Regions from separate parts of the Homo sapiens genome. Here regions 2 and 3 are each linked to region 1. Evidence: promoter capture Hi-C in human tissues and cell types (Jung and others, 2019). All regions are on one chromosome and are shown on one strand. Each heading gives the region's core, a stretch centred on a gene start or on the middle of the fragment in contact. The rest is flanking DNA. Distances are from core to core; before and after follow the strand shown.

Evidence for each region. The method cuts DNA at HindIII sites, captures the fragments that hold promoters and counts their contacts. A contact is called where the count stands out against the background at its distance.
Region 2: a contact is called between the fragment with the promoter of CAMKK2 here and the fragment with the promoter of MLEC in region 1, in 2 of the 25 tissues and cell types used here (liver and mesenchymal stem cells).
Region 3: a contact is called between a fragment that was not itself captured here and the fragment with the promoter of MLEC in region 1, in 1 of the 25 tissues and cell types used here (dorsolateral prefrontal cortex).

Annotation. Positions count from the first base shown.
Region 1 is chr12:120,684,862-120,689,899 of GRCh38, forward strand. It overlaps MLEC (malectin), which reads left to right and starts at 2,288. Exons shown (of 5, transcript NM_014730.4): 1 at 2,288-2,670. The coding sequence starts at 2,436. It overlaps LOC105370029 (a long non-coding RNA gene), which reads right to left and starts at 2,288. Exons shown (of 3, transcript XR_945449.3): 1 at 1,993-2,288. RefSeq lists silencers at 203-292, 1,407-1,506, 2,347-2,646 and enhancers at 1,667-1,776, 1,867-1,996, 2,091-2,592. The HindIII fragment of the contact is 30,224 bases long and covers 1-5,038 here.
Region 2 is chr12:121,293,277-121,298,314 of GRCh38, forward strand. It overlaps CAMKK2 (calcium/calmodulin dependent protein kinase kinase 2), which reads right to left and starts at 3,433. Exons shown (of 17, transcript NM_001270485.2): 1 at 3,362-3,433. RefSeq lists a silencer at 2,969-4,118. The HindIII fragment of the contact is 15,221 bases long and covers 1-5,038 here.
Region 3 is chr12:121,252,570-121,257,607 of GRCh38, forward strand. It overlaps CAMKK2 (calcium/calmodulin dependent protein kinase kinase 2), which reads right to left. Exons shown (of 17, transcript NM_001270485.2): 8 at 3,214-3,235; 9 at 2,981-3,069; 10 at 704-903; 11 at 92-145. Among named protein-coding and RNA genes, the nearest start is that of CAMKK2, 42 kb to the right of the region's middle. RefSeq lists an enhancer at 3,024-3,524. The HindIII fragment of the contact is 4,173 bases long and covers 53-4,225 here.

The sequences.
Region 1 (5,038 bases), core at 1,038-3,537:
TGGCCCAACCACGAATGGTATCTGAAGGGCTCAATAACAGGAGCCAGCCGGGTATCTTCTTCACCCTCTGGGGTGACCAAAGACACGAAGGACTGAGAGAAAGCCTTTAGAGGCCTCCCCCAAAATTTAATCCGTTTTTGTGATTGTTTCTCCTGGACTAGACTGCCTTGAGGATAAAATAAACATGAGCGCCTGGTGGCAGTGCAATACCTGAGTGGTACGTGGGCTCTGCAGGCCAACTGCCTGGAGGGAGGAAGCCCCATCACCACTACTTGTGTTTCTGTTCCCCATTTGCACCACACCCCTCCTTTGAGGGTAACTGAAGCCTCTGAGTTGTCAAGATCCTTAAAAGATGACAGTTTGAGAGAGAGAATAGTAGAATTAGAAACCCCAAGAGGCCAGGTGTGGTGGCTCACACCTGTAATCCCAGCACTTTGGGAGGCCGCGGACCCCGAGGTCAGGAGATCGAGATCATCCTGGCCAACATGGTGAAACTCGGTCTCTAATAAAAATAAAAAAAACTAGTTGGGTGTGGTGGCGCGCGCCTGTAGTCCCAGCTACTCAGGAGGCTGAGGCAGCAGAATCGCCTAAACCCGGGAGGTGGAGGTTGCCATGAGCCGAGATTGCACCACTGCACTCCAGCCTGGCGACAGAGCAAGACTCTGTCTCCAAAAAAGACAGAAAAAAAAAAAAAAAGAAACACCTTGGACAGGAAACATGTCTATGGGAGGAAGTAAGGCCAGATGCTTGCAAAATAGGGGGGAAAGTGAGACCGGGAGGGAACACTTCCAAAAGTTACCCCCATGGGGTCTGAATTTGGGGCCTGGGAAGGAATTTGGGTGCATTTAGATCCACCACTGATAGTCTCTATTTTGGCACCCTGTTTTGTTCCCGTATAGCACTTACCACTGTTCTAACTAAACAATTAATTTCATTATGGGTTGTGCAAAGTCTATGATTCTCATGCGGGACCCCAGGTGTGTTTTTTGTTCATGTAGCACAAAGCTCATTGCCTAAGTAGTAGGTAGGATTGGTAGATAAAATACAAGAAGTCCAGTTGTTTAAATTTTAATAAACAATGCATTTTTTTTTTTAGTATAAGTGGGTCCCATTTGCTTATCTGAAATTCAAATATAACTGGGCTTCTCCTATTTTATCTGCCAAATCTGACAACCCTGGTAGCAGGGACTTGATACATTTTTTTCCTTTTAGGGAGAATTTCTAAATCGACCAGTATTTATGGAAAATGCATAAGCGTTTTTTTGTTTTTTTTGTTTTTGCCTTGACTCTGCCCTACACTTGCGGTGCGACCCTTTGGCAAAATTCAGTCCCTTTCTATGCCTCAGTTTCCCCATCGGAAAAATGGGAGTTTGAACAGCGACCGAAGCGCAGGGATCGCCAGTGTGGGAGAGCGCCAGGTGAACTGTGAAGGAGCAGGGAGGGAGTTCGGGCCGTGCCCGTGCGGGACAACCCCGGTATCCACTCTGGGCACCGCCGGCGGCGACTCCCGCCAGCGCCTAGGGTGCCTCGGTCCCGCCCCTACGCAGCGGAGGCCGGCCAGAGGCCGTCGCCATGGAGACGCGAGCAGCCTGGCACCCACTCGCTCTCAAAGCCACGCGTTTCCGCTGCGTTGGAGCCTTCTCATTGGACGGCCGTCTGGACGCTACCACCCGCCCCGAGCCCGCTAAGGGGAGGGGGCGGGGCCTTATTCTCATGGGATTCGTTCCCTGGAGACCTGTGTCCGCGGCCTCTCTGGGAAAGCATGGGTCCTCTCCCTCACGCGGGGAAAAGGACTGCGTCTCTTAGGTCTGGAGAGTGTCCATTGCTTCTCCTACTAGAATTTATGCTCATGCTGCTCCCTGAGAAAAGAAGAGGGGGCGGGAAAGTCGGCCACGCCCCCTCCAGAGCCTATTTGGTCTCAGGAGCTAGAGCACCGGAAGTGCTGGCGACATGTCAGTGCGCCCTACCCTAAACCTTCCCCCCCCAGGCCACCTTTCCCATTCAGCTGTGGGATTCCGGGGCCGCCTGGGCGCTGCACCCGCCACTTCCGCATCGAACCGCCGCTTCAACCGAACTCACTCCCTCTGCGCGCGCTCCATCTGGTGCCCGACTGCTGGGCCGGCGCCTGGGAGAAGCCACGCCCTTTCCCGCGCCTGACAGCCAATGAGCGGGCGCCTCCCGGCGGGGTGGTGGGTAATTAATGAGGGCCGGGCGCTGATTGGCTGCAGCGTCGTGGCCGGGGGCAGGGCGGCGGGGTAGGTTGTTCCTGAGGTGGGAGGCGGTACCCGTGGCTGAGAAGAAGGAGGCCTGAGAGCGACATGTCCCCGGCGGCTCAGGCGGAGCGGCCCGTGGCGCTGTTTTTCTGAGTCCGGGGTGGCCTGGCAGCCGGCCGAGGACGAGGGTCGGCGGGGGCTGCCCCCGTGGTGGTGGCCGCCATGCTGGGAGCCTGGGCGGTTGAGGGAACCGCTGTGGCGCTCCTGCGACTGCTGCTGCTGCTGCTGCCGCCGGCGATCCGGGGACCCGGGCTCGGCGTGGCCGGCGTGGCCGGCGCGGCGGGGGCCGGGCTGCCCGAGAGCGTCATTTGGGCGGTCAACGCGGGTGGAGAGGCGCATGTGGACGTGCACGGGATCCACTTCCGCAAGGACCCTTTGGAAGGCCGGGTGGGCCGAGGTGAGAGTCCCCCTGCCGAGCCGCGGGATCCAGGGCCTGCTGTGCTGGGCGCAGCCGGCCGGGGGCTGCGGGCCCCGAGCCCCTTTCGACCCTGGGGCCGCGTCTCTGGAGCGAAGTTTCTCTCTGCAGCTTCTTCGGGGGCCCGCTCTGAGCTCAGGGCCTGGCACTGGCTCCAAGGTACCTAGAGTCATACAGGCAGAGAGTTGGCCAGAAGTTAGTTATATTTGGATTTCTCATCCTGCATTTTCTCAACCCCTCACTCCCATCCAAGCTGGGAGAGAAATGACGAAGGCGGCCTTTTGCTACCTCCAGGCCTCGCGGGTTGTAGGTCATGGGTGCCCCTGCTTCTCCTGTCGAGACAGTTCTTGGGAGATTCTCGTCGACCCAGGAATCGGCCGCTTTCCTTGCCCCTTCTGCAGGAGCGGGGCTTGATTCTTAGCCAGAATAGGAAGGAATCTTCGAAGAGAATGGGCCAGGAAAGTTTGATTGTAGCCTCCTCCCCCGCCCTCTTTTCGAGCGAAGAATATGTGTGCTTAAAAGTAGAATCGGCAGGCCGCCCCCAGAGGGTGGTTCTATCGAAGCCATCCTGCACGTGAGGCTGGTGGCTGTGTGTGAACTGGGTCAACCAGTGTAAGAATCCGAATGGTCTATCAGAGAATGCTTACAACCTCCCCTAGGTGATCCTGAGAGTTCTAATTCCAGCTTAGGGGGAAAATGATTGTGACTTAACTTGCTGGGCAACAGTGGTTTTTAACGGAGCTGCTCCCTTCCCAAAGTTAGTGTGTGTCAGAATTGCCAGGGCAGCTGGTTAAAAATGCAGATTCCTAGTCCCCACTCGAAATTGATTATAGTAGATTGAGCTTTTTTGCTGGGATCCAGGTTTCTGCACCAGGGGCTTGTGATGTAGGTTGCCCCGAGACCACCGTTTTGGAAGATCAGCTTTATAATCTTTGTTTCTTCTGTTGGAGGGATTGGAAAACAGGTTTCAGAAGGAAGTTCTTTGCTAGGAGATTGATACTGTATGCTGGGTTCAGAGGCTACCAAATTGGCAGTATGCCACCTCCAGACAACCAGGAGACAGACTCACTCTTCACTTTCTCTCATTCTTTTTCTGCGATGCCCAGATTTGGCTCTTGCTTTTACTAAAATAGTTAGTTCTTCCCAAGTCGATTGCAGTGTCCTGGAGTTTGTTATATTAAGGAGTTTATTGCCTTTCACACATGTGAGGGTCTTGGGACACAGGGCTGTTTTGTGAAGTTCTATGTTTGTCTTGGAGTTTGTTGAGCCCTGGCATGTAGATCACAGTAGCCTGGGTTCAGCTGACTCAGGGCTCCAGTCTTTAGCAGCGGTAACAGCAGCCAAAGCCAGACTTTATAGCAGGAGGTCATTACTATCTCTATCCTGGACCCTTCCTCTTTCTTCACGAGTGTGGGCAGGGAGGAAAGAGCCCTTGAGGAAACTAGACAGTTTGTGGACTTTGCCTCTTGAGATAGCGGTGGTGAGGGTGCTGAGCGGATGGTTTCTTTCACTTAGCAGATACCAGGCCTTACATTGGTTACATCGTCCTATTCAGTCTGTTGTGCAGAGAATAAAGCCGAGTAAGACCACACAGGTTTAGTTCCCAGATACTGCCCTTATTCAGAAATTCTGGTTTTAATTTGCTGATGCAGGTGGTGTGTGTGTGTGTGTGTGTGTGTGTGTGTTTCTTTGGCTTGGTCAGCAGTCAGCCAAGATCTGTGTCCTTGGGTTATTGGCTCATGGTTGCAGTTCCTTGGAAGGAGTTTATTGTAGCAGGTAAAATTACATGAGACCTACCAAAGCTTGTGTGTACTGGAGTCCTATTTCGGACACTGGCCCTTGGGGCATTGTATAAATGAAGGTTCCCTGCTAAGGTTCCCCTCTCCATTCTACCAATCTGGGTAAGAATTGGAGCAGTATTAAGGCATGGATGGGGAGTGGGAGGTGGCGCTTGTCAGCTGCAGTTTGGACCAGCTTGTTGCAACATTGCGCTTACCAGGTTCCTGAGAAAGGCATTTTGCTGGCTTTAGGTCGGGCTGAGATGCGCATAAGCTTGCACTCTCAGGAGGCAGCTCTCTACTAAGGAGTCAGTCCTACCAAGGGAAGTCCAGCTGTTCACACTGCCTTTCTTCTGGGCCTGTTTGGATAAGGGTGTGCCAGGTATTTGAAGACCCTTGCCTCGTGCAGCTATTTACACTGATTGCAGTAGGAACTGTATGCCTTATTTCTTTTCCCGCCTGCCTGTGATATTGTTTCCAGCATGCTGAGAAAAGTTGATTTTATGTTGAATGAATTCAGGTATTTGTTACCAAGTTAGTCCAGATAAGGGTTTGGCCTTCTTTTGAACTTG
Region 2 (5,038 bases), core at 2,183-4,682, 610 kb after region 1:
CAAAGAAAAGAAAAGAAACAAAGCAAAGCAATAAGCAATATAAGACCCTCTGATTTAAAGGAAAATCTGAAATAGCATTTGCCCCAAATCCCCAGGATCAGGAAATGAAATGTTTCCCATAACCACCAGAAGAAAGTATGCTGGGGCGGGAAGAAGATCACAGGTGACCCTGAGCAAATTACTCAGCCTCTCTGAGCCCTTCATATAAAGAGGCTTCCATAAAATGAGTTGATAGAATAATGGTGATTCTGTGGCCCATGTTAAAATTTGAGCCAAAATGCCTTGAAAACAGGCTTGGCCTGCCCCACTTGGCCTGGTCCTCTCCCCTGAGAGTGGTGTCTGGCCACTCATCTTCCATCTAGGATGAGGTTCTCAAAGAGGAAACCCCCGGCTACTGCACAAAGTTCCCTGCTAGGTCACCCCACCCTATCCCCTTCCCCTCCTACTCCCATCCCATCTCCCATTTCTGGCCCATCCTTCAAGGCTCTGCACAAATGACACCTCCTTCAGGGAGCCTCCCAGATTCACACCAGTCTGAGGAGATTTCTCCAGAACCCTCAGTGCCCTGTGCTCCTTCGATCACAACAGCACTCATTCCTTGTGGTGTTTCTCAACAGTGGCACTGCTGGCATTTGGGGGAGGGTGATTTTTTTTTGTTTTTTGTTTGTTTTTTGAGAGGAAGTCTCCTTCTTGTGCCCCACGCTGGAGTGCAATGGCACGATCTCAGCACACTGCAACCTCCGCCTTCCAGGTTCAAGTGATTCTCCTGCCTCAGCCTCCCAAGTAGCTGGGATTACAGGTGTGTGCCACCACGCCCAGCTAATTTTTGTATTTTTAGTAGAGATGGGGTTTCACCATGTTGGCCAGGCTGGTCTCGAACTCCTGACCTCAGGTGATCCTCCTGCCTCGGCCTCCCAAAGTGCTGGGATTACAAGCGTGAGCCACCACGCCCAGCCAGGGGAGGGTGATTCTTTATGTCGTGGCCCTGGCCTGCCTACAGGACACTTTAGTAGGCATCCCTGACTCCCGCCCACTAAAAGCCAGGAGTGCTTAGCATCATTTTGACAACCAAAAGTCGCCCCCACACTTTCCCAAATCCCTGCCAGGAGGGTGGGACCACCCCCGGATGAGAACTAGTGCATTGTTATTAGTGACTATATTTAGCTACCAGCCCACTAGCCATATCTAAGGATGGGCAGTACTACAGACCCTGCATAGAGCTGCATCGGCAAACACTGATGTAGTGAATAAACAAAACAAAACAAACTCCTGGGCTCCTCAAGAAGCTCAGGGCAGCCTTGCCAGGGTCTCTGCTCTTGAACAGGTGCACAAAGGTTCTAAGGCCTGACATGCCTGCACTGGCTGTGTGACCCTGAGCAAGTTACTTAACTTCTCTGAGCCCTTCTATAAAATGGGGCTAAATCCTAGCAACACTGCAGGATTTCTGTAAACCTCAGTCTCCTAATCTCTACTATGGGGTTAAAATTCCCTACGTTGTAGGATTTGGTAGGCATTAAATGAGATAATGCATGTAACACATAGCACAGAATCTGGCAGGCAGCAAGAACTCAATAGATGTTAGTTTTTAATACTGTTATTATTATTATTGTCCAGGGCCAGGTGGCAGCTCATGCCTGTAATCCTAGCACTTGGGAGACTGACGTAGGCGGATCACTTGAGGTAAGGAGTTCAAGACCAGCCTGACCAACATGGTGAAACCCCTTCTCTACTAAAAATACAGAAATTAGCCAGGCATGGTGGTGGGCGCCTGTAATCCCAGCTACTGGAGAGGCTGAGGCATGAGAATCGCTTGAACCCGGGAGGCGGAGGTTGCAGTGAGCCAAGATTGTGCCACTGCACTCCACCCTGGGCAACAGAGACTCCGTCTCAAAATAAATAAATAAGTATTCTTATTATTATCCAAGTTAGGGGCTCATCAAATGATGGCTATTACTCTTCATTACAAAAATATGTTTTGCGTCCTCATCACCAATGCCTGCTTCCTCCATAGGAAGGGTGTGTGTCACCAATGCCTGCTTCCTCCATAGGAAGGGTGTATGAGCAGCAGTCTGGAAGGGGTATGTGGGGCTTGCCCTAAAGCTGCATTTGCATGGCATGCACACTATTTATTCTGAAACTGCATGTTTTTGTGGGGTGATTAGGGAAGAGGGTGGCTAACTCCCCCAAAGCCCTCCCCTTGTTGCAGCCCCCGCCTCCTCCAAGGAACAAAGGAGCTTATGGGGACATAAAGCCATCCTCTTCTCTCTCCTCTGGGGGCAGAGCTAGGGGAGGGGGAGTGGTAAATGGCAGCACAGCTCTAGGGCACCTGAAGTTTCTATCCCCTGCGTGGAGACTCCAAACACCAGGCTGGGGAAGGTAAAAGTAGCCTGTAGGGAGATGGACGCTGCAGGTCCCATCCGGAGGCCAGGTATCCCTCTCTTGCTGATAGCACTGAGACGCCCTCCCCAAAGCTCAGCCTTCTCGGGGAGATCGGAGGGGCTGAGCTGCATCCTGTCCAGCACTAAGTGAGAGTGGCCAGGAGGGCAGGCTGGCAGAGCTGTGAAAGCACCCACTTCCCCAGCTAGGCAGTGCAGGGGCTGGGGGAAAGCCAGGAAAAGCTCAAGGCTGGGTCGGGTGGCACCCCAGGCACAGAGCCCCAATGCTGAGAGGGGCTGGGTCCAGTGTCCCTGAGAGTCAGGCGGACGCCTCTCCGCATTCACAGCATACTGCAACCCCGAGGTGAATTTAGGTCAGAAGGACCAAGCCTGTGAGGCTCCGGCTGAGAGAAGAGGTGCGGTGGGGGTGGTCAAAGGGCAGACCGAAGACAGCCAAAGGTCCCCTAGGTCCCCACAACTGCTGGCCTAGGGTCCTGCCACCTGGTGTCCAAGCCACCAGGGCCTGGGTTTGCCCCGAGACAGGCAGGCTGCGGGGTGGGGGTGCTCCAAGTCCGCTGGTCCTCTCTTCCCCGGAACGCTCCAGATTTCCCCACCTGTCAAACGCGAGGGGCTGGGCCTAGGCCGCCTCCACGAACCCTGACGGACCCGGCCCCCGGTGACCCCGGTTCCAAACTCCAGGACCGCCCCTGCCACCCGGACAGGGCGCGGCCCAGCCGAGGAGGCCATCCCGAGGCCCAGGGCGCCCAGAGGACGCGGGGGAAGGGCTGTCGGGGACCGTGTCCCTCCACGTGGCGGGGCGTGGGGAGGCGCACGTGGGGTCCCTCCGTGTTGGGAGCCCCAGGCCAGCCTCCGGGCTTTGTGTGCCATGCCGGCGGCGGTCCCCCGCCTCGAGAGGGAAACGGAGCGGGCGCCCGGGGCCGCGGCGGCTGCGTCCCTTGCCCCGGGCCCGGCTACCGCCAGCTCACCTGGGCTCCGCGCCGCCGCCGCCTCCCGCGCTCTGCGCCCCCAGCTCGGCTCGGCTCGGCTCAGCTTGCTCTGCGCGGCCGCGCGCTCCTCTCCTCCGCCCGGGCGGCGGGCGCGCGGGGGGCGGGGGCGGGAGGAGCCGCCCGGCTCGGCTTGGGCGCGTCGCCGCCCCGGGCAGCGCGGGGATTGGCCACGGCGGCGGGAAACCCGAAAGCGGAACCGCCCGCGCCCGCCGCGCACCGCCCCCTGCGCGCCCCCGCCGGCTCGGCCCTGCGCCGGGGAGGGGTGGGGAGGCGGGAGCCTGCAAAGACGAAAGTAGCGAAGAGGCGAAGGGCAAGGAGCAGAAAGGGAGGAGGCGAAGAACGGGGGAAGAGAGGCCCGGCCGGGAGGATCGGAGGCGGCTGGGAGGAGAGCCTGGAGGGGCGCGGAGCGCAGGAGGTGGCGCCGCAACTTTGTACCCGCTCGCCCGCGGCGCGCACCTGCCCAGGTTCTTCCCGCGGCGCCCTCGGGCGGGCCGCGCCGGCAGCGCTTGCTTTGTTTAGCCAAATGCCGGGGCTGCAGGGCGCCTCCGGGCTGACCCTGGGAAAGTTCCCCCAAGCCGGCAAGAACACCCGGGGCCCCTCCTGTGGCGACCCGGCTGCTGCCCCTGCGCTAGGCGCCGGGCGGTGGATGCGGCCTGGACTTTGGGCCACCACCGACTCGGGGGAGCCCCCTTCCGCAGCTGCCTGCCGACTGACCACTTGCTCAGGGCCGGCCCTAAAGGCTGGGGGAAGGCGTTCCTCTCCCATCCCCAGCCCACCTGGATGCACCATTGAAGTTCATTCTGGCTTTTCCAGATGGCTACTTAGATGCTTTTTGTGAAATACAGCATATTCTTCCCATTCTCCCCTTTTTGGCACTTACTTTGCTGGAGCCTTAAGTGTGCGTTGGATCCCCCAGCTGGATAACAGCACTGTGCGGGGAAGAGGAGAAACGAAGACCTGGAGGGCTCCCTGAACCGTCCTACGGGGTCGAGCGACCCAGGGGATGTCTCACTGACCCTGCCAAACAGCCAAAAGGGAATCGAGTTGACAGGAGAGTCAACCTCCAAGTTAATAAAAGGTTCAAAGCCCTCTAGTTAACTGGGTGGATTTCCAGCCCGTTCCGATGTGCTTCTCTTGTATTTCTAGGCCGTAGGGACACTCACATGCAACGAGCCAATGAGAGCTCCACCCCGACTCCCTTTTTTTTTTTTTTTTTTTTCTTTTCTGAAACGGAGTCTCGCTCTGTCGCCCACGCTGGAGTGCAGTGACGCGATCTCGGATCACTGCAACCTCTGCCTCCCAGGTTCAAGCAGTTCTCTGCCTCAGTCTCCCGAGTAGCTGGGATTACAGGCGCCGGCCACCATACTTGGCTAATTTTTGTATTTTTCGTAGAGATGGGGTTTCACCATGTTGTCCAGGCTAATCTTGAATTCCTGACCTCGTGATCCACCCGCCTTGGCCTCCGAAAGTGCTGGGATTACAGGTGTGAGTCACCGCGCCCGGCCCACTCCCATTTTTTTTTCTTTGTTTTTTTTGTTTGTTTGTTTGTTTGTTTGTTTGTTTGTTTTGAGACAGGGTCTCTCTGTGTTGCCCAGGCTGGAGTGCAGTAGCACGATCACGGCTCGCTGCACCCTCGACCTCCCCAGGCTCAGGTGA
Region 3 (5,038 bases), core at 889-3,388, 570 kb after region 1:
TAAATAAGTAAGTACTGTCTCCCCGCAAGGGTGACTATTAACCCAGGGGCCACCCAGCAGTACTGAGGGGACAGACACCCCGCCCTCTTACCTGGCCAAAGACAAAGCAGTATAGTGTCACACCCATGGCCCAAACATCCAAGGCCTGCAAGAAAAAGAGCTTAGTGTGAGGGCATAAGGGGTGGTCCAGCCTCCAATCCTCCAGTTTTCCTTTGGGGAACCACCTCTTGACTTTCAGCCCTTGGAGTTGGGGCGGGACCAATCTTGTCTCCTAGGCTCTGGGGCAGGCACAGGATCCAGGCCAGGCCAATGAGAGCACCACTACCCCCAGCCACAGTGATTGGTTCAAGCATGGGCACATGACCCATGTTGGGCCAATCAGAGCCAACCCCAGGGTTTTCACAGGCACTATTCAGAATGAGGAATGCTCTTGCCACTGAGGTTGGCAAATGATAGAAAGTAACCTGGTCCCTGGGTGCCTGACCCACCTGTGGAGGAAACCAAATAAGAAAAACAACTGAAAGATGGCGGGAGATGGTTTCTGTTTGAGTCCCTGGATCTAGCCAAGCCTGAAGCCTACCCCTCAGTATCTTGATCCAGGGGATTCACTGTTTAAGCCTGTGTGCGTTGGGTTTCTGCTGCTTACAATCCAGAAGACACTAACACAGGCAGAACTCTGTGGCTGAGGCAGGCCCAAGCTTACCTTCCCAGAGAAGATCTTGCGGGTCTCAGAGAGCGACTCGGGTGCCATGAAGGCGGGCGTGCCCACGGTGTTGGAGAGGAGCGCGTCACTGCCCTTGAATTCATTGCTCACACCAAAGTCAGCGATCTTGATGTGCCCATCTTCTCCGACCAGGAGGTTGGAAGGTTTGATGTCACGGTGGATGATCTTCTGGTAGTGTACTGGGGAGGCGTAGACAGCAGGTGGGAGATAGGGGCAGGAAAACCTCGTGAGCACCTCTATGCGGCCACATGGCCTGGAGACACAGGCATGGCACCCCTCTGATGCCTTGTCTCCCACAGCCCCAGGCCTTTTCCAACCTTCCACTCCCCAAACCCGCTGGGCACTGACATGCTCTAAAAGATGAGGGGAAAAGTGTCTTCAAGGAAGTCCCAGCCCACCATCACCCCACCCCTTCTCAACAATGACACATAAAACACTGCCAATAGCAATTCGTAATCGCCTGTTATTTATTAAGTCACAAGTGACAGTGCATGGAAAGTTTTTGCTGGGCTTGGCTCACAGCTAGTTGTGAAACTGACAGTGAAACATAGTTTCATTTACCAACAGCCAATACTCAACTGATTTACCAAACCGACAATGACCTGAGCAGGCCGATTTGAAATGTGAACCACACACAGAACTCGGGGCTTGGCTAACTCCTCCTGGCTGGATATCAGCCCATGGTACAGGACAGTTCTATGGCCTGGAAGACCCAACTGCCATTTCTGGGGTGATGATGATGATGAAGACGATTTCAGTGAAAGCAGCAGCAGAGCACCAAGTGAGGGGCCCGGCCCTGCGTTGTGTTTCACATTCACATTTTACATTTAATTAAACCTCACAACCATCCTATGTGACAGGCAGGGATAAGAGATAACGTGGTGGCCGGGCACGGTGGCTCACGCCTGTCATCCCAGCACTTTGGGAGGCAAGGCAGGGGGATCACCTGAGGTCAGGAGTTCAAGACCAGCCTGGCCAACATAGCGAAACCCCATCTCTACAAAAAATACAAAAATTAGCCGGGCATGGTGGCGTACACCTGTAGTCCCAGCTACTTGGGAGGCTGAGGCATGAGAATTGCTTGAACCCAGGAGGCAGAGGTTGCAGTGACCTGAGATCGCGCCACTGCACTCCAGCCCAGGCAACAGGGCAAGAATCTCAAAGGAAAAAAAGAGCTAAGATGTTTAACAAGCAGAAGCAGAAAGGACACCTGCCAATCAAACCACTGATGTGTACTGGCTGATCTCAGCCCTGGTGAGAGATATGTTATCCCCATTTTACAGATGAGGAAGCTAAGGTTCCAGGAGGTGAACAGGACCCTGATCCCAGGGTCACTGGGAGGAATAAGAGACAAAAAAAATAGAGCCCCAAACAGTGCCTGGTGCACATAGAAAGTGCTAAATAGTCACTATTGCTACTGCTCTTCATTTTGCCAAGTGGCAGGAAGAAGGGTTTTGGCTCGCCTGGACCATGGCCATAGGGTGGCTCTCTGCAGCTGGCCCTGATTCTGCATTTCACACAATTCTGTTTCCCACTATGATGGTTGATACTGAGTGTCAACTTGATTGGACTGAAGGATACAAAGTATTAATCCTGGATGTGTCTGTGTGGGTGTTGCCAAAGGAGATTAACATTTGAGTCAGTGGGCTGGGGAAGGCAGACCCACAATCTAATCAGCTGCCAGCGAATATAAAGCAGGCAGAAAAACGTGAAAGGTGAGACTGGCCTAGCCTCCCAGCCTATGTTTTTTTCCTATCTGGATGCTTCCTGCCCTCAAACGTCAGACTCCACGTTCTTTAGTTTTGAGAGTTAGATGGGCTCTCCTTGCTCCTCAAGCTTGCAGACAGACTATATTGTGGGACCTTGTGATCGTGTAAGTTAATACTTAATAAACTCCCCTTTATATATATAATTATATATATAATTTTATATATATATAATTTTATATATATATAATTATATATATAATTTTATATATATATAATTATATATATAATTATATATATAATTTTATATATAATTTTATATATATATAATTATATATAATTTTATATATATAATTATATATATAATTTTATATATATAATTTTATATATATATATGTATCTCCTATTAGTTCTGTCCCTCTAGAGGACCCCAATCCACCCGCCCACCTCCCTGTGCTCCAGGAAGAAAATAAGACACTTTCCACTTTGCACCCACGCTCAGAATGCTAACTACCCACTGGGTGAGAGCCCTCCCGCAGGCCCTGCTCACAGTACTCGATGCCTTTGATCAGATCCTGGAAGTAGAAACGGGCCTGGTCTTCAGAGAGTGGTTTGAGGGTGGGCACTTCCATCACGGGCCTGAAAGGTCGACACTCATGTGAAACACAAAGCAGACCCGCCAGCCCTTGCCCTCTCTCATGAGCAGAGCCCAGTGGCACCTCACTCAGCTATGCAGCTACAGAAGCTTCTTGCATCACCCCTGCTGGGAGCTGGGACACTCACCCTTGGTTGACCAGTTCGAACACTGTAGGGAAGAAAAGGGTGAAACTGTTACATGGGAAACTGAACATCCATCTCTCTCTGTCCTCCCCACCTCCCAACCACCTCCAGAAACACCAAGAAAGACAGAAACTAGTATTAGAGCTGGGGAGAGGAACAGTCCACTGAACCAAGCTGGCCAAGGTCCTGCTTTGCTAAATTTCCATCAGAAGGCAAAGAACCAGGGATTTCTGACGTCCCCAGGCCCACAGTCTGGCTTGACTTCTAGTGCTCAAATTGGCCCAGGATCCACTGGTCAAAGAAAACACGGCAGGGGGCTGGGCACGGTGGCTCACGCCAGTGTAATCCCAACACTCTGGGAGGCCGAGGTGGGCGAATCACCTGAGGTCAAGAGCTCGAGACCAGCCTGGCCAACGTGGCAAAACCCTATCTCTACTAAAAATACAAAAATCAGCCGGGCGTGGTGGCAGGTGCCTGTAATCCCAGCTACTTGGGAGGCTGAGGCACAAGAATCACTTGAACCTGGACAGCGGAGGTTGCAGTGAGCCAAGATTGCACCCCTGCACTCTAGCCTGGGCAACAGAGCAAGAATGTCCCAAAAAAAAAATTTCTTTGAGATGAAATTTACGTAACATAAAATTACCCATTTTAAAGCGTGCAATTGAGTGGCATTTAGTATATTCACAATTTTGGGCAATCATCACAACTATCTAGTTCCAGAACATTCTCATCACCTCAAAAGAAAACCTCATACCCATTAGCAGTCACTCCCTATTCTTCCCTCCCTCAATCCCCTGGCCACCACCAATCTGTTTCCTGTCTCTATAGATTTGCCTGTTCTGGACATTTCATATAAATGGAATTGTACACTATGTGGCCTTTTGTGTCTGGCTTCTTTCACTTAGCATCATTAGCACGTTTTTAAGGTTCATCCACACTGGTGCATGGATCAGTGCTTCATTCCCTTTAATGGCTGAATAATATTCCATTGTATGGATAGACCACATTTTCTTTGTCCATTCATCTGTTGAGGGGCATATGGACTGTTTCTACTCTTTGGCTGTTGGGAAGTGCTGCAATGAACGTTCGTGTACATGGATATGTTCATGTGTGGATATCTGTTTTTGGTTCTTTTGGGTATATACCTAGGAGTGGAATTTCTGGGTCACGTGGTATAGTTATTTAATTTGATTCTGCTATGACAAGCATAAATTGGAATACAAGGCTGTACTTTAGGAAGTTAAAAAAAAAAAGAGCACAGTCGATTTCAAAATCCAGTGGAGGATGACTCTGGGGTTGCTTGTTGTTCTGGAATCATACACCCACAATGAGATGAGCATGTAATAGAAACCAGAGGGGATACCCCATTTTCCATGATGGGATTATTATGCACTGCATGCCGGTATTAAAACATCTCATGTAACCTATGACTATATCCACCTACCATGTACCCACAAAAATTAAAAAAACTTTTTTTTTTTTTTTGAAATGGAGTCTTGCTCTGTTGCCCAGGCTGGAGTGCAGTGGCACGATCTTGGCTCACTGCAACCTCTGCCTCCTGGGTTCAAGCGATTCTTCTGCCTCAGCCTCCCGAGTAGCTGGGACTACAGGCACCTGCCACCACACCCGGCTAATTTTTTGTATTTTTAGTAAAGATGGGGTTTCACCGTATTGGTCAGGCTGGTCTCGAACTTCTGACATCAGGTGATCCACCCACCTCGGCCTCCCAAAGTGCTGGGGTTACAGGCAAAAAAATTTTTTAAAAATGAAACCAAAGGGTTGTTTCAAAGCTCTCCAAGGGCTGAGGTGGCCAAGGGGAACAGGGAAG